Regions from separate parts of the Homo sapiens genome. Here regions 1, 3, 4, 5, 6 and 7 are each linked to region 2. Evidence: promoter capture Hi-C in 16 types of primary human blood cells and fetal thymus (Javierre and others, 2016). All regions are on one chromosome and are shown on one strand. The core of a region is centred on a gene start or on the middle of the fragment in contact, and the rest is flanking DNA. Distances in the headings are between cores, read along the strand shown.

Region 1 (3,025 bases), core at 259-2,758, 270 kb before region 2:
CAGGGTGCGGCAGGGCCACCCTCCCCGGAGTCTCTCTTCTTCTGGCCGCAGCGGGTAGACCGCAGAGTGGTCCGGGTGCAGCGGCGCCCGGGCAGCTGCGGAAGTGGCAGGGTTGGGGTGGCGGCTGGAGCGCCACGCGCGTTCCCTCTCCCGCTTCCGCACCCGCTTCTGCACCAGCCTCGGGCAGTCAGTCCCCCGGTGGTTTAGTGATGGAGGAAGCGAGGCGCGATCGGGCGGCGCTGGACATTCCTCAGCCCTGAAACCCTGATGCCCGGGGCCCGCTGCTTAGAGCTGGGGCTGGGCGGAGCTCTACTGGGGAGACCTTTCCACCTTCCTTTAGGGAGCCCCTCCTTTGCGCTGGGTGCTCAGCTCAGCACTGCGTGACTTTGCTCTCAACGAAGAACACATTTCCTCAAATTCCTCAGATTTTCAGTTCTGTTAGTAACATTCTCTCCAGCTTTATCATTTGCTGGAACAGATTTTTTTTTTTCCGAGACCGAGTTTCGCTCTTGTTACCCATGCTGGAGTGCAATAGCGCGATTTCGGCTCACTGCAACCTCCGCCATGCGCTAGCATGCCCGGCTAATTTTGCATTTTTTTTTTTCAGTAGAGACGAGGTTTCACCATGTTGGTCAGGCTGGTCTCGAACTCCTGACCTCAGGTGATCACCCACCTCGGCCTCCCAAAGTGCTGGGATTACAGGCGTGAGCCACCGCTCCAGGTCGGAACAGTTCATTTTTTAAACTGTCATACAATTACTTCTTTCTGATCATTTCCATGACGTGTGGGGAGAAAAGAGACAATTGTGGGGTACAATCCTTGAAACCAGAAATCAATGAAGTTATACTTGACCGGATTTTAACATTCTTCCGCATTATGGTTTTGTGTTTCCTCCTTTCTTCTTGTCTCTTTTTTGATAATTATAAACATTGATTCCTGGCTGGGCACAGTGGTTCCTGCCTGTAATCACCAGCATTTTGGGAGGCCAAGGCGGGAGGATCATTGAACCCAGGAGGTCGAGACGGCAGTGAACCTGATCACACCACTGCACTCCAGCCTGAGCAATAGAGCGAGACCCTATCTCAAAAAGAAAAAAAAAAGAGTCCTAATGATCTAGCACATTCTACATTCACTGCTTGATTCTGGGACATGTTTCGTTGGGGATTATAGTTCTGAATTACAAAGTATTACCGGAATGGGCTGTGATCAGGATTATAAATAGCAGCAATTACATGCTTTTTGAACTAGAAAAGATGTTCTAAATTGACCTAGATATATACAGACTATTGGGACACGTGGTGGATAAAAATTAAGGCCTAGTAGCTGGACTCTAAAAAACAATGTTTTCCACCAGGGGGAGCTGTAGACTATGTCTGAAGGTATTCAGATTCATGTCTTTGTCTTGTGCCACTTTTAAACGTGATTCTCCTGAATGGTACGTTCAGTGGGACCACAATACTAACCAGGCTAAGGCAGAAAGGTTGAATGGGTTCTTGTAACTGGAAACCTGAGCTACAGCGCTACCTTCAGGCACAGCTGGATTCAGGCATAGATGCCGCAGGCCTCAGGCTTTGCTCTCTTCTATGCTGGGCTTTATCCTCCCAAAGGCCCTCCCCTCATTGTGGCAAAACGGCTGCAACAGTGCTGTCCTTCATCCTCCCAGACTTAAATCCAACCAGCAAAGACCCCACTTACCTAATGGCTTCCACAAAAATCCAAGAGTCTCTTGACTAACTGGCCTGCCTTTGGTCGGATGTCCACTCCCGAGTCCATCTCAGTCACCAGGCAAGGTGATGGATTGGCAGGGCCTGGCTCACACCAGGCTGAGGGTGTAGCCAGTTTAACCTAGATGACAAGGACTGAGGGGGACAGGGAGAGGTCTAGAGGCAAAATCAGGCTCTGCTGCTGGAAGTGGGTGAATGGGTGCTGGTGCTGCCCTCAGAAAACATACAGAGAAGGAGGCCGGGTGTGGAGGCTCACACCTGTAATCTCCGCGCTTTGGGAGACTGAGGTGGGCAGATCATCTGAGGTCGGGAGTTTGAGTTCAGCCTGGACAACATGGTGAAACCCCATCTCTACTAAAAATTAGCCAGGTGTGGTGCAGGTGCCTGTAATCCCAGCTACCCAGGAGGCTGAGGCAGGAGAATCGCTTGAACCTGGGAGGCGGAGATTGCAGTGAGCTGAGATCGTGCCATTGTACTCCAGCCTGGGCGACAGAGCGAGACTCTGTCTCCAAATAGAATAAAATAAAGTAAAATAAACCGTACAGAGAAGGAGAAGGTGACAACGTAAGGCAGATGGAATGCACCATCGGGAGGTGGGGGCGCGACAAGGGATGCAGAGCATAGACTACGGGATCAGCTCCACACAGGAGAAGGGACCTCTTAGCTGGCCGTTGTGCTGGGTAGGCAGCCTGAATTAGTGACTTCAGAGGGGAGGCAGCTCTGGGAGATGACACAGTGGGGGTTTGGTCCTGTGACGTCATGGCTGAAGGAGGTAGAGGAGAAGCATGTGACACGAGGAGTTCGGGGCGCTCAGAGGCCAAGCTGATGGCTGGATTGATCTTGGGGATGGTGAAGTCACCAGAATGAGAAGACTGGGAGCTGATGGAGAAGAGGGTGTGCCCACTGCTCAGTGAATGATGGCATTCACCAGGGATGGGGGCGGGGTGGAAGAGGTGAGTGGCATGGCCCTCAAGGAACCACTGGGAATGAGGACACTGACCCCAAACCTCTCAACTCTGGGGTGTGTGGCGTCTGGGAGGAGCCTGTGAGCAGAGCCAGATCTTGAGTAAAGAAGGAGGTGGAGGGAGAATCCTGTGAATAGGATGTTAAGAATGCAGGAGAAACTGAATTAAACAGGACGGATTAAGCAGATCTATTTATCTCTTCACCCTCCCCAAACCCCACTAAAATTACAATAAAGGGATAAAAAAGGCATAAACCCACAAGGACAAGAAGAGCGGGGGAGGAAATGAGCACAGACAGGAGAACTCAGCATTCTGGAAAGCAGGGGGAGAGTGGAG
Region 2 (3,143 bases), core at 246-2,745:
GGAGAATCTCTTGAACCCGAGAGGTAGAGGCTGCAGTGAGCCAAGATCATGCTACTATACTCCAGCCTGGCTGACAGAGTGAGACTCTATCTCAAAAAAAAAAAAAAAAAAGATGGCCAGACACCCCACTAATGAGGATTTAGAACCTCTATCTCTGCCCCGGGGTATGAGAACATAAGATAATCAGGAAAAGATCTATCAAGCTGAAGTGTGGTTGCCCAAACCCTCATCCACTCTACCCTCCAGGACCATGAGTGAGTGAGAGAGGATCAAGGAAGGGGTGCACATCCCCCATCCTTTGTCACTGTTCAATCATTCAAGCAAACCAAGATGATTTTCCTATGTACCTCTTTTCCTCCCAAGTTAAATGGAAATATGCTCCTCCCAATCCCACTAAAATCTGCAACATCTGTAAACAGAGAAAAACAGTATTTGCCACCTGGGTCTATCGCTTTGAAGTCCTGAGGGGCAGGAACACTGTTTTGTGTGTACTGAGGTCTCTTAGCAGAGTTGGCTGAGGAACTCTGTGCTAATGGTTAAGATCAGTCAGGATCATTTATTTGACTCAAAATGCCCTGAGAACAGATTGGAAGAAAGAAGGACAAAAGTCATCCAATCATAAATTTCAAATTGTGTCATGAGGAAAAAGCAATTGGGGCACGAGGAAGGTCACAGTGGTGCCTCTCTCAGAAAGGTAGGATGGCAGGAAGCGGGGATCTCGGACAGGTGCTCAGAATCCCAGGCGCAAAGTCTGAGGCGCTGGGCACTCTCTTTTCATTAGGCTGCAGCCTAACGGCACCTGTGGCTCTCCTTCCTCATCCCCACAGGCTGCCACAGGCATTGATCTCAGGTTATGAATTTCAAACTTGAAGGATTTGTACTTTGCTCCAAGGAAAAACGTTCTGTTAGGCCAGCAAATCAATAAAACCAACTACAGCAAGGAGGCTTCCTCCATCAGTCTCCAGAGAAGCATCAAGCTGCGCTTTCCTGCCTCAAACTAGAGCCTGAGGCGCATGCACCGTGGGGTTCACCACGCGATCCCACACCGCAGGCCCCAGGAGGAACTGCTCTGCTAAGTCGGGGCTCACTCTAGTACTAGGAAATACCGCAGGGGCCAGCAGTATTTATCCTGCAGTATAAATCCAGCAGTATTTATCCAGCAGTATTTATACCAGCAGCTGGTATCCTTAAACTGGTTACCAGCAGGCAAATTTCCCCTCAGAATGGCTCTTCCCCCCCAGCTGTCACAACTGCCCCTTCTCCTCCCCCTCCCCCACACAAATATTCCTTGCTCCCTCTCCCTCCACAACTGCCTCTTCTCCCCAACAACTGTCCCTTCCTACCCCGACACTACTGCCCCTTCTCCCCAGCACTCCTTCCCTCCTTCCCTCTGCCCCCGACACACACCTTGCCACGCTGACCCTCCCCTCCCTAGACCGACCGATGGGCCACTCTAAGAAGTTGCCCCTCGCAGCCCTCTCGGGCCGGCGTCTGCACGCGTCCCCATGGCAACCCCGGGCAGGGAGGGGCGAGTGGCCGGTGTGCGGCCCCTCGGAGCCCGCCTCCTCCGCGCAGGCGCCCTGGATCCCTGCTTCGCGGCCCCACCCCGCCCAGGTCTACCCCTCAGGGACCCAGGGCTTGAAGGCTCCGGGACTAAAGGAAAGTAGCCACATCTGGCGAGCCGAAGGGTGCGGGGGGCCTGGTGTCAGGACCCAGCTGGAAGGGCTGGGGCGAGAGACAGTGAGCCACCGCCCCGCAGGACATTGAAAAGGCAGGGAGAACCCAATCGCCCGACCCCGCGCCCAGGTCTGTGCGCCCCAGCCGGAACGGGTCCAGCAGATGGCGCCGGGCGCCAGGCCGGCGAGGGATATTCGCGATGTAGAAGGCGTTCCAGGATTTCCAGGCAGCCGTGGGTGCAGCTGGATCCGGGGGAAAAACCGGGCCTGGAGCACCCTTGCCCTCCTGCTCCTTCCCCCTTCTTAGTTCGGATTGGGGTCTAGGATTGCGGGGGGGCGGCGCGGGGCGGGGAAAGGGAGGGAAGACGGGAACTGGAGTTTTGGGAATCTGAGGATTGGCTTTCGAAGGCATCGCTGGTTTTTGGGGGGGATGAGAGGCGGGGACTCCCTGGGGAAGGTGACCGGGCCTGGGAGGGGCTTCGCTCTCCATAGGAACAAAGGCTGCGTCGTGAGAGAGGAGGCGAGAGGGGAGGGCTATGAGGGCCGGGGTACATCTCCGAGGGTGCCAGGGGGCGCTGCGGGCCGGGGCTGCTAGAAGGCGCCTGGAAGACCGCTGTACCTGGTGCCGGGAGGAGCTTTGGGGAGACCTGGGAAATACAGGGAGGAAGCCGAGTGGGGGGATGGGAAGGCGCCCTCCCTGTTTCCATCAATAGTGCCTAATTAAGACAAAGCCAGCAGCGAGCCCACTGATTACATTTCCATGAGGAGCGAAATTTATGACATTTTCTTTGCTGGATGAGGAGAAGAGAAGCTGGCACCTCAGTTCCCCCATTTTCTGTTTGGCGTTCACACCTAACAGATCTCATTATGCCAGCCTGGCACTACCAGGAGTGGCAGTCCCTGGTACTCCTGAAGAGCAAGTGGATTAACCACACCCTATCCCAGCGCTGACCTCACCCTCCCACCTACCGTATCTTTATTCCCAGAAGTGTCAACCCTTTCCCTCCCCCCGACCCCCAATAATTCCTCCTGCCCAGCCAGACTCCTGTTGCTGACAGCAGGAATGGAAGGAGAGGAGTACCGCCCACCCCAAAACCAGCTGCACAGCTAGCACAGCTAAGATGGAACGTGGAGGTGTTCCTCTAGCCAGATAGGCCATGGGTGGCAGACAGAGGTGATGTGGTTGGCCAGAACCCCTAGGGAAAAGTCCCAAAGGAGTGAAAATTTGCTGGAGGCGTGGGGTGGGGAGCCTCAGGGGCAAGGTTCATGGGTCCCTCGGGGAAAGGAACTTTGCACAGACCCCATTTCTTTTCTTAAACCCCCCTCCCCAACTGTGGCTGTGCCTACGGATCCCAGCCCCCCACATTATGCTAAATAGGTAATCAAACATCTCGCTTTGCTAATTACTGCTCAATCCGATTAAACGCTGCTGAAGCTCATCAACAGAGGTGGAGGTAGGGGGAAGGG
Region 3 (3,248 bases), core at 204-2,703, 380 kb before region 2:
ATTTGGGAGAAGAACTTAGGGGCTCCTCTCATGGTTAGAACCCAGCCAGGTGGAGTAGCAGCTTGCTCTGTGTGGCATGGCAACCCAAGGCCCTTTTCTAGGATTACCTCCACTCTGGGGCCACCTCCTTCCCTAGTGACTCACCCCACCGAGTCCTGGAACACTGGGCGGGGAGTGACAAGGAGTAAGCTGGCTTCCTGCCCCACTTCTGGGACTTTCCACTCCCTACCCTTTCCTCTCTTGCCTTTCCATGATCCCCTCATTTCCCAGCTCTCTTGCCTTTCCGTGATCCCCTCATTTCCCAACTATCACCTCTAGGACGGCAGAGGTGGAATCAGGGATGGTGAAGAGGGAGGTGATACTCCCCTTCTGGCCAACTGACCCAACTGGGATGGGGGTCTCCACAGCATGACTTTGGGGCCTGGATGCCCAATGCTCCATCATCCATGAGGCAGCCCCCACCCCAGACCAAGGGGACCACCACCCTGAAGACTTACCTAGACACCCTCCCTGAAGTGAACATCAGCTGTAACAACCTCCTCCTCTTCTGGTTGGTTAGCCAAGAACCCAAGGACCAGGTGTGTATACGGGATGTTGAGGGGAGTAGGGTTCTTTAGGGCCACCAGTAGGGGTGGTGGTGGCTTCGTCTGGGGGCTTGAGGACTGATCGACGGGATTTATGTTCACTGCAGAACTGCCTTGGGTTCTTCAATTTCTTCAGAAAATGATAATCCCAAAAGACATAGACTGAAGCAAATACCAGTTTAGTTACCAATCTGTCCGTCCATCCATTTATCCGAATGTTCATTCATCAACTACTCATGTGTTAATGCAAACATTCAATAAACATTTGTTGGATACTTCCTATGTGTCCACACAGCACTGGGCACCAGGCCTATAACGCTGGCTGAGACCTTCCTGCCTTCAAGAAGCCTGTGGTCTAGTTGAGGAGACATACAGGTCAATGAAAAAGGGCACCACCGTGTTGTAGGAGTTACTTATATGTTAATTTCTCCATTCAACACACACTTCCTGAGTACCAGTGGTGACCCAGACACTGTTATGGGCAGCTATGAAACTTGTCCATGTGAGCTTACAGTCCAGTGATAGGGGTAAGGACAGGGCCCTGAGGAACCTAAATGGGTCTGGGGGAACCCAGGAAGGCTTCTTGGAGAAAGTGACATCTAAGTTGAAATCTGCAGGACAAGTAGGAGTTGGACAGAGAGGAAGAGCAGGGCTCTTTTTTAGGGAGGGGGAAGAACAGGACCAAGGAGCGAAGGCGAGAAATCACTGGTGTGTTTGTAGGATCACAAATGGAAATAGCAGAGCGGAGAGGAAGGTAGGGCTTTGTCTGCACAGTGTTCGTTTAGAAGACAAAGGGTAGCCAATCAAGGCTTCCCCCACCCCCCCACATGGAGTCTTGCTCTGTCACCCAGGCTGGAGTGCAATGGTGCGATATCAGCTCACTGCAACCTCCGCCTCCCAGGTTTAAGCGATTCTCCTGCCTCAGCCTCCCGAGTAGCTGGGATTACAGGCACCCACCACTGTGCCCAGCTAATTTTTGTATTTTTAGTAGAGATGGGGTTTCACCATGTTGGCCAGGCTGGTCTCGAATTCCTGACCTTGTGATCCACCCATCTTGGCCTCCCAAAGTGCTGGAATTACAGGTGTGAGCCACCGCGCACGGCCGCCAATCAAGACTTTTAAGCCTGAGGCCCAATGGTTAAATCTGCTTTAGCTAGGGTGCTCCTGTGGCTGCGTGAATGGATGCAAAGGGCAACTTTGGAGGCAGGAGGCTAGAGAGGGGCCAATATCTGAGTTTAGGCCAGGCAAGTAGCCCTTTATCACTGGTTCCCATCATCTTTGTTTCCACCCAGCCGTCTTGCACACAAGCTCTCTAACAGGTGAATATTCTTATTTCTCACGCTTGACTCCCTTTGGTGCTGGAAAGATTCCAGATGTTGCTGGGCACAGTGGCTCGTGCCTGCAATCCCAGCACTTTGGGAGGCTGAGGCCGGTGGATTGCTTGAGCCTAGGAATTCAAGAGCAGCCTAGGAAACATGGTGAAACCCTGTCTCTACCCAAAACACAAAAATTAATCGGGCGTATTAGTGTGTGCCTGTGGTCCCAGCTGCTTGGGGGGAGCTAAAGTGGGAGGATCACTTGAGCCCAGGAAGTAAAAAAATGCAGTGAGCCATGTTCACGCCACTGCACGCCAGCCTGGGTGACACAAAAACAAAAAACAAAAAACAAAAAAACAACAAAAAAAGAAAGATCCCACATATTTGATCTTCCTGGCAAGTTTTAACTTGCTACCTTATATCCTGGGAATGGCAGGACTCTGGGTCCTGTCCCTATCTGGTCCCAGAGGGATGACAGATAAGTAGACAACAGCATGAGGGTGGAGGGCTCTCTCCTATAAACTATAGAAAGTTTAACTTGGAAATTTATAACAACAATAATAATGGCAGCTGTCACTGAGGAGCCATCATGTCTCAGTTATTAAATCAGATCCTTTGTGTACATGATTTTAAAATGTGAACCAAATACATAGCTCTATTTAAAATGCTTGGCAGCCAGGCGTGGTGGCTCACGCCTGTAATCCCAGCACATTGGGAGGCCGAGGTGGGTGGATCACCTGAGGTCAGGAGTTCGAGATCAGCCTGGCCAACATGGTGAAACCCCCATCTCTACTAAAAATACAAAAATTAGGTGGGCATGATGATGCATGCCTGTAACCCAGCTACTCAGAAGGCTGAGGTAAGAGAATCACTTAAACCCGGGAGGCAGAGGTTGCAGTGAGCTGAGATGGTACCACTGAACTCCAGCCTGGGCAACAAGAGTGAAGTTCCATCTCAAAAAAAAAAAAACAAAAAAAAAGCAGCTTGGCACCGTGCTGGCATATAAATGTTCAATAAATGGTAGTTCCACTTCACAGGGGAGAAAACTGAGGTTCAGGGAGATTCAGCAATTTGTTCAACAGCACAGAGCTAGTAAGTAGGCTTTGAATCCAGTGTCATATTTCTGTCTTCTGCTGTGTTTTCTCTTTCTTTCTCTGGTGTGTGTGTGTGTTCTGTTTTTTTGATGGCTATACTACAGTTTTAGAAATCAAGTATTAAGCCAGGTGCAATGGCACAGGCCTGTAGTCCCAGCTACTCAGGAGGCCGCAGAGAGAGGATTCCTAGAGGCTAGGAGTTCAAGGCTGCAGTGTGCATGACCATGCCTGTGAATAGCCACTGCACTTCAGCC
Region 4 (3,306 bases), core at 686-3,185, 300 kb before region 2:
GGGACAGGGAGCAGGGCCCAGACCCTAAGGAGAAGCACAAAAAAAAAAAAAAAAAAAAAAAAGGCGCCAGGTGAGCCCCGGGACACGCTGTAGAGTCTCTGCCGTGGGATTGAAGCAGCAGCTATGAGAGGTCCCTGCTTTGGCCATCACTGCTCTGCCAGCTACAGAGCCATCTCCAAGGCAAGGACAACCGCAAGTGTGGGCTCCTGGCGCAGGCCAGCTGGCAGAGGTAGTGTAAACACATCTGAAGGTGGGGGATGCCCAGTGACCAAGCCAGGCCCCGGTGCTCTCATGCGCTGGGAGTTGCCCAGGCCACAGGAACAGGGTGGGGAGGACTTGAGTCAGCAGAGCCCTGAGACTGGATAACCGACTGGGTCCAGGAAATAAGATTTCCAGAGAAATGGTGGAAACTGCAGAGAAAGGCAGACAGAGACTGCCAGGCAGAAAGGGGACTGTGGGGACACAAAGACAGGAGAATAGAGCAGAAAGGGAGGCAGGAACAGAGAAAGGAGAGGCTGAGGCACAGAGAGGAGGCTGAGGCTTCATCTTTTGCCTTCTCTTCTCCCACTAGATCTGTGAACTCTGGGGTGGGGGTTCCCCAAGTTCTTCTAGCTGGGGAGGGGTCAGGGCTCTTCTATCACATCTGGTCACTTGAGCTTGAGGCCAGCCTGGGAAGGAGGCTGAGTGAAGGTGGGAAGGAACTGGCTCAGCCCTGCCCACTCCACTTCTACCTTAAACTGGGTCTGCCCTCTGGCTCATCCGCCTCTGCTTCCGGGAGGAGCCCTGCCTAAGCCTGTCCCAGCTAATCCCTCTGCACCTAATCCTGGACTCTTCCTTGAGGCAGCCGAAATCACACACCATTAACTACTCCAGGCCCTTGCAGGCAGGGAGAGAGGGAAGGAAGGGGAAGGGCTGCAGGGTCGGGTACGGGAGGGAAGAGACAGGAGGCTGAGAGCTCTATCCACACAGTCAGGTCCAAGGCCAGAGATGTGAATCTGCGCTTCAATCCCTGGGACCTAAGTACAGAGAAAATCTTAAGGAAAATCTTCAAGAATGTAAATAACTTTTAAAAATGTGTGTGTGTGCATGCCCGGGTTTTGTTTTGTTTTTAATCTTTAATTCATCGTATTTAAATTCAATTTAAAATGTTTTTAAAATTGCACTAAATTGCTCTCTGTAGCAACATCACCTTCGGTAACCAGAACTTACAAGTGCTGGATTCTCGATGTTTGATACATTCTTCCTTCACCTTTAGGAAGGAGGGGAATACCACTAAGCTTGTGGAAGTCATGAATCAGTTTAAAAAAAAAAAAAAGAAGGCAAAGTCCCGTCCAGGAGCCCCTGTAATCCTAATACCTGCTAAGGAGTCCTAAGCTCAATGTCTACAGGCACCAGGCAGGAATATAAAGGAATGTTCAAAAAATCTTGGTGTCTCGGAGTCTGTGGGGAGTGGCGACATCTGGATAAAGGGGACTGTTGCTGTTTAGCTGCAGCAGAATGTGGTTAAGTGGTGACACAAGCACCATGTGGGGCTTCTGATTTCAAGAGAAGGGGGAAATCTGCTATACATTTTTAAAATGTGGAAGCTGTTGATTTTTAAATGTTAGCTCAAAACAAAACACTCTATAGGCCAAACAAAAGAAATTTGGTGGCTAGTTTGTAGCCTGGCTTTATGAGATCTTAGAGATTCTAAGATTTAAAGATCTTAGGGTGATTTAGTTCTATGATTCAGAAACTTTAATGAGCGTGTCAATATTTTGTAGGAACTTGTTAAAATGCAGATCCAGACTCAGCAGGTCTGGGGTGGGGCCCTGAGATCCTTCATTTCTAATGAGCTCACAGGCAGTGCCGACCCTGGCCCACCAACCACACTTGGTGTAGTGAAGGTTCAGTTCCGGAATTCCCTCTCACTGTCGTATCCCTGGTCAATGATGTCTCCAGTTCTGCCTTCACACCTCCAGGGACTGGACACTCACTACCTCTGGTGGCAGCCTAGGTGGTTTCCTAGCCTGCTGCAAACTTCTTCCAGGGTCTGTAGCAATGGTGACAGACACCAAGAGTCAAATGTGCCAAGGCCCAGGCTCTGGAAGGTCAGAGTTTCACAAAGGCAACTTCAACTGGGGACTTGCCAGGACAGGGCATTGATAATTGCTGCAAAGGTCAGGCGCGGTGTCTCACACCTGTAATCCCAGCACTTTGGGAGGCCAAGGTGGGCAGATCACTTGATGTCAGTTCAAGACCACCCTGGGCAACATGCTGAAACCCCATCTCTACTAAAATCACACAAAAAAATTACCCGGGCGTGGTGGCGGGTGCCTGTAATCCCAGCTACTCGGCAGGCTGAGGTAGGAGAATCACTTGAACCTGAGAGGAGGAGGTTGCAATGAGTCGAGATTGTGTCACTGCACTGCACTCCAGCCTGGGTGACAAAGTGAGACTCAAAAAAAAAGAAAAAATTCTAAGCAGAGAGGATTTTCTGTCCAACTGCTTGCTCAGCAGCTCCTAGTTAAACAGAGAATGCCGCTCTTTGGATGTTCTGGTCAGTCAAGGTGTGGCACAATTTCCTTTCCTCAAAGCATTGAAGCAAGCTTTTCTCTGCACTTGGGCAAGTTCCCTGATTATACCCACAGGAGAAGCAGCCAGTTTCTGACTGGTGGGAGATGGAGATAGGAATGAAGCTTGAGGCTAAACAGGAGCCCTTGCCCCCTCAGGCCATGTGACAAACCCTGCTCTGGTGGAACAGAACTCCACTTCCTCTGGGGTCGGGCATCAATCCCAGATCCTCCTTCCTGGGTCCCTGAGAGACACTGGGAAGCGGAGAATCCCTGACCCTCACATCCCCTGCTGGACTCAGGGCTCCTGGGGGTGAGGGCCACAAGCCACCCAGCTGTCAGGTGCACAGGGGCCTTGGGAACCACTTAGGCCACCCCCCATTTTGCCACTGAAGGGATCACAGCAGAGCATGCGTGACACTTTCCCAAGGTCACATGGCTGGTTTTGCAACCAGCTCTTGTAAAAGGCCCAAAATCCTTTGAGGCAGAGCTGGGCAGAGTCCACCAGCATTAGACAGACTTCCAGTCACCTATAGCAGCAACTTTCAGGAAAAGGACCTTCCAGAACAATCCTGAAGAAAAGAGGGGTATCTCAGAGGGGAGTCGAGGAAAGGGGTCATGGGGGTTCACCTAGGAAGGAGCGGGTCACGGGTCAGTTTCTTGCAGGAGGGGAGTGGGCACGGCTTCTGCTTTCACATTGTTCTCTGGTGACTGCTGCCCCCTAGAGTTGTCTCTTGTGCAGTGCACAGCCTGT
Region 5 (3,274 bases), core at 601-3,100, 360 kb after region 2:
TTTCCCGGAACAGGCAGAAGGGGGTGTGGGTGTGGTGGGAGTGGCGTAGGGGATTCTTTCCTTCTGTAGATATTTTCCTGGCATTGTTGACAGCCATGTGATTGGTTGAGGGCTGGAGGGGAGGAACTTTCCAGCTGTGGGTGCCTGGGTTCCCGGGAGGCCATCTGACACTGGGATTGTGGGGGATCTGGGTTTTTGGGGATTTTCTTGTTTTTCATTATCTCACCAACCAGAAGCAGGGATGTCTGGGTTTTAGGGTCTGGAGACTGTCTTTGGAGCTGGGACTAAGGGGCTGACTGGTTCCCCTCCAAGGGATGTGGAAGTTGTGAGTGCATACCCCTTAGAGCTGGAGGCTGGGAGGTTTTCAGCGTCTTCACAAGCCACTTTTTGCTTGGAGGTGGTGGGACCTGAGGGAAGACGAGGGTGGGAAGCCTACGGGAGGGGCCTGGGAGGGACAGAGGGAGGGAGGATGGGTGGTGGAAGGCACTGGGCGGGGTAGGATTCCTGTCTTTATCCCAAAACTCACTCCACCAGGAGGCTCAGAACACCCAGAAGCAGGAAAGCTCCGAAGATGGAGAGGAGCAGAATCTTGGCTTCCCAAAGATCCTGACTTCCTGCAGGGAACCCAGGAGGCAGTGAATGATTCTGGGACCCACACGCACCGACTTGGGAGCCCAAGGGCTCAGGGATCTGGGCAAGGTGGGGCGGGGCCAAGATGGGCGTGAGGACCTGGGAAGCAGCGCTTTCGGGGCCAGCAGGACACCTCCGTCCCCTTGCAGGTGGAGCAGTTGTACAGCGTGGTGCTGCCCCCTGCAGGAGACAGCAGAGGCAACGCTGGGGAGGGGAGGCCGGGCCTCCACCCTGCCTGGTACCCAGCTTCCTCCTGCAGCTGCCAGGCCCTCCTCTGACACCCTGCAGGCCCCAGGTCCTTGCTACCCCTTTCCTTTCCTACTCACGGCAGGCGGGGGGACAGAGAGCTGAAATGAAAGACAAGGAAGGGGTGGGGGTGTGAATGGATGAGCTGCTCACCACACATTCCTTTGGTTAAGACCCTAGGCTCCCCTTGAGGCCCATCCCGCATCGGTACCTTCCCTGGTGTACTCAGGGAGCTTGGTCTTTCGAAGCCAACTCCAATATGAAGGGAGTGAGGAGACAGCCTCTTTGATTTCTGGGGAGGCAGACAGCAGCTCCGTTTCCCTGGGCCTCGACGGGGCCAGTTCCCCCTCTCTTCACGCAGCCCCTCCCTGATCAGCCCTCCTGTCTCTACCCCTCCACCCTTCCCTGCCCACCCCAACCCCTGTCACCCGTCCCTCTCCTTGGTATCCTCCCAAGCCCCTAGGTCACTCTTTCCCCTTGACCTCACCCATGACCCTCAGGACTCTGTGAGTCTTCTCTGTGACTTTGTTCATGGACACCTCATCTGTGGAGATGGGCAAGGACCAGCGATTCCCTCATCAGCCCAGGTTCTGGGGTCTCTCCTGACTTTCCCAGATATGGAGCTCTCTCAGAGGGAAAGGCCAGCATGTCCAGAAAGGGCCACAGATGGAGGGCACAGCTGGAAGGTCACATGCCACCCTCTGGGGGTAGGGGGGTGAGTGCTTGCTGGGCCCATCCCTGGATGTCTGGTCCTACCTAAGGCAAAGGCCGAGAAGTCTGGGGAGGCCCCACATTCCTTCTGCCTGGCCTCCATCTGGCTGCAGAGCCGAGCCAGGCGGCCTGACAAGTCGTGGGCTGGGAGGCGACAGAAGACACAAGCCTGGGCGGCTGCCAGGAAAACCCCGCCTAGTGCCAGCCTCCACATGAGGACCACTGGGGGATGGGGCGGCGCTGCCCCAGCTGAGCCGAGGAATGCTCTGCAGCCCTGGCTCCAGCCCTTGCCTGGAGGTTCTAGAATGTTCCAGAACAATGAACAATGGCACTGCCCATCCTCAGCTGGGGTAAAGCTGGGGCTCAAGGAACTGGGGTCCAGAAGGCATCTCCAGCAGGCGATGGGCAGAGAAAGCAGGGCTTCTGTTGTGAGGGGACAGCACCCCCAACCTGGCCCTCAACAGCCTTCACAAGTTTGTGGTTCCAAAAGCAGTTTTATTTTTCTTCTTGTAAATCATGACCAGTGAGAAATAATGTGTGCCCCACCCCCCACCAGTGAAGAAGCTGTGCGTGAGTATCCCACCCGCTCTGGGACCCAGAAATCCCATCCCTTCCCATCTCCTCCCCCACTGTCCCAAACTCTTCGTCTCCTCTCTCTGCCCTGGGCGGCCTTGGGCCTTCCCCAGCTATCTCCTAGCAACAGGTCCATGGTTGCCTCAGCAACCAAGAGTTCCATACAGGCCTCAGAGGCCCAGCTAAGCCCAGTGACTTCTCTTACCTCTCACCAGGAAGATCCCAGTGACTCAAACCCCAACAGGCCCCTCCTGGCTACGTGGTGATGCATATACATGCGTGCACATAAACACACACACACACACACACACACACACCCTGTGATTAAACTACTAATTGTCAACCACCTCACAGGTATACCACAGACACACCCTGTGCCAGAAGAGTCGCTAGGCAACCCCAAACAGGCCTGGACATGCGGACATCACAGACACTGTAGTCAGCAACACAGATATGAACCAGGATGCCAGGGACCTATACATCAGTCAGCCACACGGGCTGATATGCACGCACACATGAAGAAAGGCCAGGACCCACAGATACTACCCTCTTCCCCCTGGCCAGCCCTGCCATCAGTATGGGATTCTTCCAGATGAGGGATGCTCCAGCCCCATTGCCATGGGGACTGTCCTAGCTCCCATACATCAACCTAGGGTGGGTTGTGGCCTTTCTGCCTCCCTCAGTAGATGGCTTGGAACATAGCAAAGAACTCCTCTTCCGATGTTCCAGAGTGTTCTGGCCTCTCATTGGTCAGGCCAGGCCAGGCCACCCAGCTTCAGGAGTAGAAGCCATGGTCCAAGAGACCGCATTGGGAAAATGCAAAGTCCTCCCTTTTCCCCAGACCTCAATATCCTTCCAGGGTTTTGCTAGGTCTAGTCTGGGTAAAGAGATGTTCCCCCCTTTTCCAAGCCCTTAAACACTGAGCTCCAAATCAAGGAGAGACTGGAGGTGCTCAGCCTTAGGCAAGAACAAGCTGAGAGAACCTTCCCTACCCCTCCCAGGGTCAGCACAGGTTGAGACCTTCTGGACCACTTGTGAGTCCTTGGTGGGCTCAGGTTTGGGAATTCCTGCCCACATCTGAGCTCCAGTCAGGTGCAGGAGAGTCCCGACTCTC
Region 6 (3,021 bases), core at 185-2,684, 350 kb before region 2:
CTCCCTCCATGCCCCTCCTGCAGCCCCGGCCCTGCCCTTTGCCTGCCCCCTCCAGCCACTGGTAAGGGGGAGCGGAGGGGGTCCCCAGCAGCCTCAGCTGGACCCAGCGGCAGACCCCGGAGTCTGGGCCGGACCTAGAGGGGGCGAGGCAGCGTGGCGGGGGGCGGGGGGCGGAGGGGGTAGGGGTGAGGTGGGGGAGGCGGGGAGGCCGGCGGGGGGAGGGGTGGCAGAGGGGAGGGGAGGCGGGGGACGCCTTGTGCAAACGCAGCAGCAGCACCTGGCCCGAGTCCTCAGGGAGCGTCACCTGGAGGTCTTCCTTTCGGGGGGCGGGGGAGTGGGCAGAGGGAGAAGGCATAGTAAAGAGTGGCTTATTACCTTTTGTTCCCCAGGACGCTTCCCCTTTCCACACTCTCATTCCGGAGGTCGCCATAAGCAACTTCCACAATTCTGGATGTTCCAGACCCACGACCGGACTAATTTTTGGTGGAGGGGGAGCAGTATCTTTATCTTCCCACTTTAATGGGTATGTTGATTCAAATCTTCTAACTAAAGTGGGGGGATTATATGGATCATTTCTATATTCGATCATAAAGGAGTCCCCAGCGCACCCAGCGTTTTGTCCGGTGCAATTTCTAGCAAAAGATTCCTTAGGAGCCCAGTCTATAATGACCCCATGAGAACCATTTCGCAAAACTACCGCATTATCTGCCACACAAACCTCCCAAGTAAGAATTTCTCATTTTTCTGACCATTCTGGATTCCTTTTAGGGCAAGCCAATCCCTTAGGCTTGCAATTTTGGACTTTTATATTTGACTGATAATAACTATCCCCTTAAGTTTTTACAGTCCTGATGGGTTGAAAAGACATTCCACTCACTACGTGATAACTAGGTTGAGAACGATTATGAGGAGGTACGTAGACCATCCAACTTTGTATTTGTAATGGCAAACATCCAGGAGCAATTCCTAAACAAACTGGAGGGTATTTATACCCAATTATCCCATTCATTAACATGCCCTCCTCCTCAGGCTATGCAGGACAGCTATCATAAGTCGGCCCAGGCATCCAGATACTACCATTTGTATAAACTTCAGTAGGGGAGTCCATCCAAGTGACAGGTCTAATCAAAGGAGGAAATGGAACATAAGCCCAGTAGTAAAATTTTGCTTAGCTGAAACAGCAGAGAGACTTACCGCCGTGGTGATTACCATCAAGGCAGCCAAGATCATATTACCCGGTGTAATCGCTAGTTGTTTCTCCTTTAGGGTGTCCTCTGCCAATTGAGTCAGCTTCTTTATCTGTCCCCATGTCAGTGGTGTAGCCTAGCGAGTCTTCTCCGTCTTCTGTTTTTTCTCCGAGACGCTCAGCTTCACCATTTTCCTCAGCTCCCGAAAAGACAGGTCGAAGGGACCGGTCTTCTTTCTCTTTTGATTCTTTCCTTTTTTCTGACCGGTCGGTGTAGGGTTCATTGTAGAATTTTAAATGTCTATTGGGTATCCAAATGAGTGTTTGATTGTCTCTTGGTGAAACACAAGGAAAACCCCTCCCCCAAGTAATACTTTTTCTTAATTTCCAAGTTTTGGTTCTGGTATCCTTCCACCAGACCATTTTTCCTTTCTGTGGCACACCCATGACTGCAAAACAAGATAATAAATGTCGTTTTACGTGAGCTGTGCTTTCTCCAGTTTGGCGTGTAGCCCAGATAAACCGAGAAAAAGTATTAACAGTAACATGTACGAAAGAAAGTTTTCCGAATGATGGGACATGAGTCATGTCCATTTGCCACACTGCATTTGGTTGAAGCCCCCTAGGGTTACCTTCAGGTTTTTGGGTGGGTAGCTGTAGCACTTGGCACTGAGGATGTTGTACTATATTTTTAGCTTGTTTCCAGGTAAATGAATATTTATTTTTTAATCCAGCAGCATTTACATGAATTAGGGAATGGAAGTTTTGAGCTTTTGTTCGCGTCTGTGTGAAGAGACCACCAAACAGGCTTTGTGTGAGCAACAAGGCTGTTTATTTCACCTGGGTGCAGGTGGGCTGAGTCCGAAAAGAGAGTCAGCGAAGGGAGATAGGGGTGGGGCCCTTTTATAGGATTTGGGTAGGTAGTGGAAAATTACAGTCAAAGGGGGTTGTTCTCTGGCGGGCAGGGGCGGGGGTTGCAAGGTGCTCAGTAGGGGAGCTTCTGAGCCAGGAGAAGGAATTTCACAAGGTAATGTCATCAGTTAAGGCAGAAACCAGCCATTTTCACGTCTTTTGTGATTCTTCAGTTGCTTCAGGGCATCTGGATGTATACGTGCAGGTCATAGGGGATATGATGGCTTAGCTTGGGCTCAGAGGCCGGACACTGTTAGAACAGGCGTCACTAATAAATTTGCTTGATTATTTAATAGGGTTAAAGGTCCTGGTAAGTTTGTGTGAGCCTAAATATGTGTAATATAAAAGGGAAAATTTTGAGTCCTAACTGCTTGTTGAAGTGAACTAAACAAGAAATTTAACTGATCATCAGAAATATGTTTTACTAAAGCTGTTTTTACCATTTTGGCAGCTTGGAATACGTAAGCAGAGTCAGAGATTATATTAACAGGTTGATTACAATCTTCCAATACAGATATAACTGCTTGTAGCTCAGCTCTTTGTGCAGAATGAAACTGAGTTTGAATAATCTTTTCTTCCGGTCCTGTATAAGCTGCTTTTCCATTCTGAGAGCCATCAGTAAAGATAGTTACGGCTCCCTCCAAAGGAATGGAACTAGTTATTTTGGGTAAAATTTAGGTAGTCAATTTTTAGGAACTGAAACATTTTAGTTTTAGGGTAATGAATATCTATACTGCCAACAAAATCAGCCAGATTTGACTGCCATTCTGACGAATTAATAAAGGCTTGTCGAACCTGTGCTTTGTTTAAAGGAACTACATTTTTATCTCGATCGGTGCCAATGAGTCTGACTATTCTCAGTTGTATTTGGCCTATAAGAATAGCTATTTGATCTAAATAAATTGAGAAAGTTCTAGTCGTAC
Region 7 (3,367 bases), core at 705-3,204, 400 kb before region 2:
GAGAATGCGAAGATCCGGGGAGGCGAGCTACAGAAACTGATCTAGGGGCATTGGGAGGGGGAGCGGAGAGGGATCGAATGGGGCCGGCCCTAGGCAATCTGGGGTCTTGTGGCCGGGGTGGAAGCCGGGCTCTCCCAGCGGCGGGATCCGACGCCGGGGCGGCCGCACTGAGTCTCGGTCTGGTCGGCCCGCTCTCCTTTTCTCGCTGGTCGCAGATGCTCAAGCCGCTTGTGGAGAAGCGGCGCCGGGACCGCATCAACCGCAGCCTGGAAGAGCTGAGGCTGCTGCTGCTGGAGCGGACCCGGGACCAGGTCAGTCCCTCCGCTAGCCCTAGGTCCCCAAGCTTCCCGTTTCCGCGTCCCAGGGCTTCCCACTGGGGTGGGGACACAAGCTTGGTTGGCAACCCTGGCCCCAAGGCATCCTCACCCGAGTCCCGCCTTTGGAATTCCATCCCAGACCCCCACTCGCTCTCAGAACGCGATCTTCTTCGCCACCCCTCGGGTCTGTAAGTTTCACGCCTGGTTCTGTAAATTTCGCTCCCGGGGTCGGTCAGTTTCACCCTTTGGGTCTCTAAGTGTCCGGTTCCCCCTCCCCCACAGCCAGCCTCTGATGAGCCAGCCTCTGTTATGTCGGGTGGTTAATTTCATTCCCTGGGTTGCGGTTTCAAATCTCCTCCTCACGCGTTGGGCATTGGTTCCAACCCCTAGGATTGGACAGTTTCGTCTCAGGGTGGGCCAGGACTTTCCTTGGTCATCTCCACTCCGCATTTGGTCGCGCGTTCTGTGGGCAGTGCGCAAATGCGATCGGGGGCACCACCAGCTCCCGCATCCGTCCCTCCCTTCTTCCCCCTGCCACTTTCCCCCTTTCTCCCCACCCCTTTCTGTCTCTGCGCCCTCCCCTCCCGTCTGTAGAACCTCCGGAACCCGAAGCTGGAGAAAGCGGAGATATTGGAGTTCGCCGTGGGCTACTTGAGGGAGCGAAGCCGGGTGGAGCCCCCGGGTACAGCGCGGGGGTGGGGCAGCGGAGGGAGGGAGGGGGGACGCCAGGAGGCTCCGGCCGGGGCAGAGTGGGCGGGCCCTGCGGTGGATGGTGGGCTTGGGGAGTGGCCGGTTCTGCTCCGAGGCGAGGTTAATAACACCCGCGCGTGTCTGTCTCTGTGTCTCCCTCATTTTCTCCCTCTTTCCGTCCATCTGGCTTCCTGTCTCTGTGCGCCTGTCCGGCCTTGGTATCTCTGCGCCCCGCCCCTTCCCTCACCCCTGCCGGGCCCCTGCCCTGCCCACCTGTGCTCCCGCCGGCCGCACCAGCCGCCGCGGCTCCAGGGGTTCCCCGGTCCCCAGTCCAGGACGCCGAGGCGCTCGCCAGCTGCTACTTGTCCGGTTTCCGCGAGTGCCTGCTTCGCTTGGCGGCCTTCGCGCACGACGCCAGCCCGGCCGCCCGCGCCCAGCTCTTCTCCGCGCTGCACGGCTATCTGCGCCCCAAACCGCCCCGGCCCAAGCCGGTAGATCCGAGGCCTCCAGCGCCGCGCCCATCCCTGGACCCCGCCGCACCGGCCCTTGGCCCTGCGCTGCACCAGCGCCCCCCAGTGCACCAGGGCCACCCTAGCCCGCGCTGCGCATGGTCCCCATCCCTCTGCTCCCCGCGCGCCGGGGATTCTGGCGCGCCGGCGCCCCTCACCGGACTGCTGCCGCCGCCACCGCCGCCTCACAGACAAGACGGGGCGCCCAAGGCCCCGCTGCCCCCGCCGCCCGCTTTCTGGAGACCTTGGCCCTGAGCCTTGGGGGGTGGTGGGGGCGGGGTCTAGGGGTGGGGTAGAGACTCCAGCCCGAGGGCAGCAGAGGGACCCGGGCGTCCGGGCGAGCAGGTGTTGGGGAGGGCAGTGGGGCGCGCGGGCTCAGCGCGCGGGTGAGATGTGGTCTATATTAGAGTATCTATATAAATATATATTTCCCTGGTTCCTGTCCCTTTTCCCTGCCCCAACTTCTCCCTTGCGTCTAGGATTGTACTCTCTCTGCCCCTCAGCCCAGTCCCAGTCCCTTCCCGAGTCCCTAGTGCATGGAATAAAGTGGTTATTAAATCCCCGTGTGTCCCCGAGCCAGGGGCCTGCCTTTATCTCGACGTCCACGCCCACTTTCCCTTCCCTTCTGTCTCCCACCCTCAGTCCTGCTCTCCATGGCCCAAGCCCCGGGGCAGACAGGTAAGTAAAGAAGAGAGCAGAGCGGGAACTGAGATCGAAATTGAAACCAGGTGGAAAGAGAGAGATAGGGTAGGGGGAGAAGGGATGGGGGCCTTTAAGAAAAAAACGGATAAAAAGGAAAAATTGAAATAAAATCGACTCTGGTGGGATTCGAACCCACAACCTTTGAATTGCTCTATTCGTCACTAGAAGTCCAATGCGCTATCCATTGCGCCACAGAGCCACCCGACGAACGGCGGCGTCTTGTAGCTTACGGGTACTAGAGTGGGAATGGGGCAGGGTTGGGGAGCGGGGCTAAGGGACTTGGGCGGGACATGCCAGGAGGGCGCGGTTTGGATCTCAGAGGCCAAGCCAGGTAGAGGTAGCGGGCGCAAAGCATGTTAGCCAGGTGAGAGAGAGGGCGCACATGGGTCGAAAAAACAGGGAGGGAGAGCAACCGAAAATGGCTGAGCGAGCGAGTGCAGAGCTCCGGCTGCCCGCTTGGGGGGTGTTTCCGGCTCAGGCGCTCCCCACTCCCAGATATAGTCCCACCCAAATAAACTAGTTTTGTTGTAAATTTCTGTGTGTTTTTGTCTCTTCTCGTTTATCTGTTCTGCCATCTGCTGCTATGCGGTCCACAGTCTCGATGGTTCTTCATTTCCAGTCTAAAAGATGTGGAAAAGGAGACGAATCAATTTGGCACTCTTAAGATTTGCCCCATTCCTTACTTCTAGTCTCTTAGGAGGACAACGGGGACAGTAAGTTTTCGTGCAGGTAGCGTGGCCGAGCGGTCTAAGGCGCTGGATTTAGGCTCCAGTCTCTTCGGAGGCGTGGGTTCGAATCCCACCGCTGCCAGGCTGGAGTTTTTCTGGTGGATTACGCACCTGCTACAGTTCTGTTAACAGTTCTGTGAGGTTACACCTATTTACATGCAGAAAGTAATTTTACGAATTCCCCTGGTAATGGTTTCACCATCATCTTCCGTGTTTGGTCTTCCAGAGAGATCATAGGCCTGCATCCATCCCAGAAGCTAAGACCTGATGGTAACTGCTGAAGCAATATTTCGTTTCTTCATAACATCTCTATTATTTCGTTTCTTCATAACATCTCTATTTTAACATGTTTTCAAATGTTAGCTCAACTTCCAACATATTTAAATAATTTATTGTACGTTCTCTTAACACTGTGTTATAG

The links. The method cuts DNA at HindIII sites, captures the fragments that hold promoters and counts their contacts. A CHiCAGO score of 5 or more calls a contact.
Region 1: a contact is called between a fragment that was not itself captured here and the fragment with the promoter of DNAH2 in region 2, in 1 of 17 cell types (endothelial precursors). The highest score is 5.3, in endothelial precursors.
Region 3: a fragment that was not itself captured here is called in contact with the fragment with the promoter of DNAH2 in region 2 in 1 of 17 cell types (activated CD4 T cells); the score reaches 5.2 in activated CD4 T cells.
Region 4: a fragment that was not itself captured here is called in contact with the fragment with the promoter of DNAH2 in region 2 in 7 of 17 cell types (activated CD4 T cells, endothelial precursors, erythroblasts and 4 more); the score reaches 8.4 in activated CD4 T cells.
Region 5: a contact is called between the fragment with the promoter of TMEM95 here and the fragment with the promoter of DNAH2 in region 2, in 1 of 17 cell types (M2 macrophages). The highest score is 5.5, in M2 macrophages.
Region 6: a fragment that was not itself captured here is called in contact with the fragment with the promoter of DNAH2 in region 2 in 3 of 17 cell types (activated CD4 T cells, naive CD8 T cells and naive CD4 T cells); the score reaches 6.5 in activated CD4 T cells.
Region 7: a contact is called between a fragment that was not itself captured here and the fragment with the promoter of DNAH2 in region 2, in 2 of 17 cell types (megakaryocytes and M1 macrophages). The highest score is 5.9, in megakaryocytes.

Annotation. Positions count from the first base shown.
Region 1 is chr17:7,987,227-7,990,251 of GRCh38, reverse strand. No RefSeq gene overlaps it. Among named protein-coding and RNA genes, the nearest start is that of GUCY2D, 14 kb to the left of the region's middle. The HindIII fragment of the contact is 8,340 bases long and covers 1-3,025 here.
Region 2 is chr17:7,716,096-7,719,238 of GRCh38, reverse strand. It overlaps DNAH2 (dynein axonemal heavy chain 2), which reads right to left and starts at 1,495. Exons shown (of 86, transcript NM_020877.5): 1 at 440-1,495. The HindIII fragment of the contact is 13,987 bases long and covers 1-3,143 here.
Region 3 is chr17:8,100,653-8,103,900 of GRCh38, reverse strand. It overlaps ALOXE3 (arachidonate epidermal lipoxygenase 3), which reads left to right. Exons shown (of 16, transcript NM_021628.3): 15 at 408-578. Among named protein-coding and RNA genes, the nearest start is that of MIR4314, 14 kb to the right of the region's middle. The HindIII fragment of the contact is 4,448 bases long and covers 1-3,248 here.
Region 4 is chr17:8,016,846-8,020,151 of GRCh38, reverse strand. It overlaps GUCY2D (guanylate cyclase 2D, retinal), which reads right to left. Exons shown (of 20, transcript NM_000180.4): 20 at 1-24. Among named protein-coding and RNA genes, the nearest start is that of GUCY2D, 16 kb to the right of the region's middle. RefSeq lists a silencer at 3,237-3,306. The HindIII fragment of the contact is 1,311 bases long and covers 1,280-2,590 here.
Region 5 is chr17:7,353,732-7,357,005 of GRCh38, reverse strand. It overlaps TMEM95 (transmembrane protein 95), which reads right to left and starts at 1,850. Exons shown (of 7, transcript NM_001320436.2): 1 at 1,633-1,850; 2 at 1,364-1,420; 3 at 1,088-1,168; 4 at 957-977; 5 at 730-810; 6 at 527-614; 7 at 1-407. The coding sequence starts at 1,801. The coding sequence ends at 374. KCTD11 (potassium channel tetramerization domain containing 11) reads right to left here. Exons shown (of 1, transcript NM_001363642.1): 1 at 2,062-3,274. RefSeq lists enhancers at 1,256-1,782, 1,783-2,309. The HindIII fragment of the contact is 23,288 bases long and covers 1-3,274 here.
Region 6 is chr17:8,061,234-8,064,254 of GRCh38, reverse strand. No RefSeq gene overlaps it. Among named protein-coding and RNA genes, the nearest start is that of ALOX15B, 24 kb to the right of the region's middle. The HindIII fragment of the contact is 6,181 bases long and covers 1-3,021 here.
Region 7 is chr17:8,119,975-8,123,341 of GRCh38, reverse strand. HES7 (hes family bHLH transcription factor 7) reads left to right here. Exons shown (of 4, transcript NM_001165967.2): 2 at 216-311; 3 at 912-999; 4 at 1,305-2,750. The coding sequence ends at 1,771. It overlaps TRL-TAG1-1 (tRNA-Leu (anticodon TAG) 1-1), which reads left to right and starts at 2,947; the gene lies at 2,947-3,028. It overlaps TRR-TCT2-1 (tRNA-Arg (anticodon TCT) 2-1), which reads right to left and starts at 2,417; the gene lies at 2,330-2,417. RefSeq lists silencers at 1,162-1,271, 1,492-1,951, 2,892-3,101. The HindIII fragment of the contact is 3,122 bases long and covers 394-3,367 here.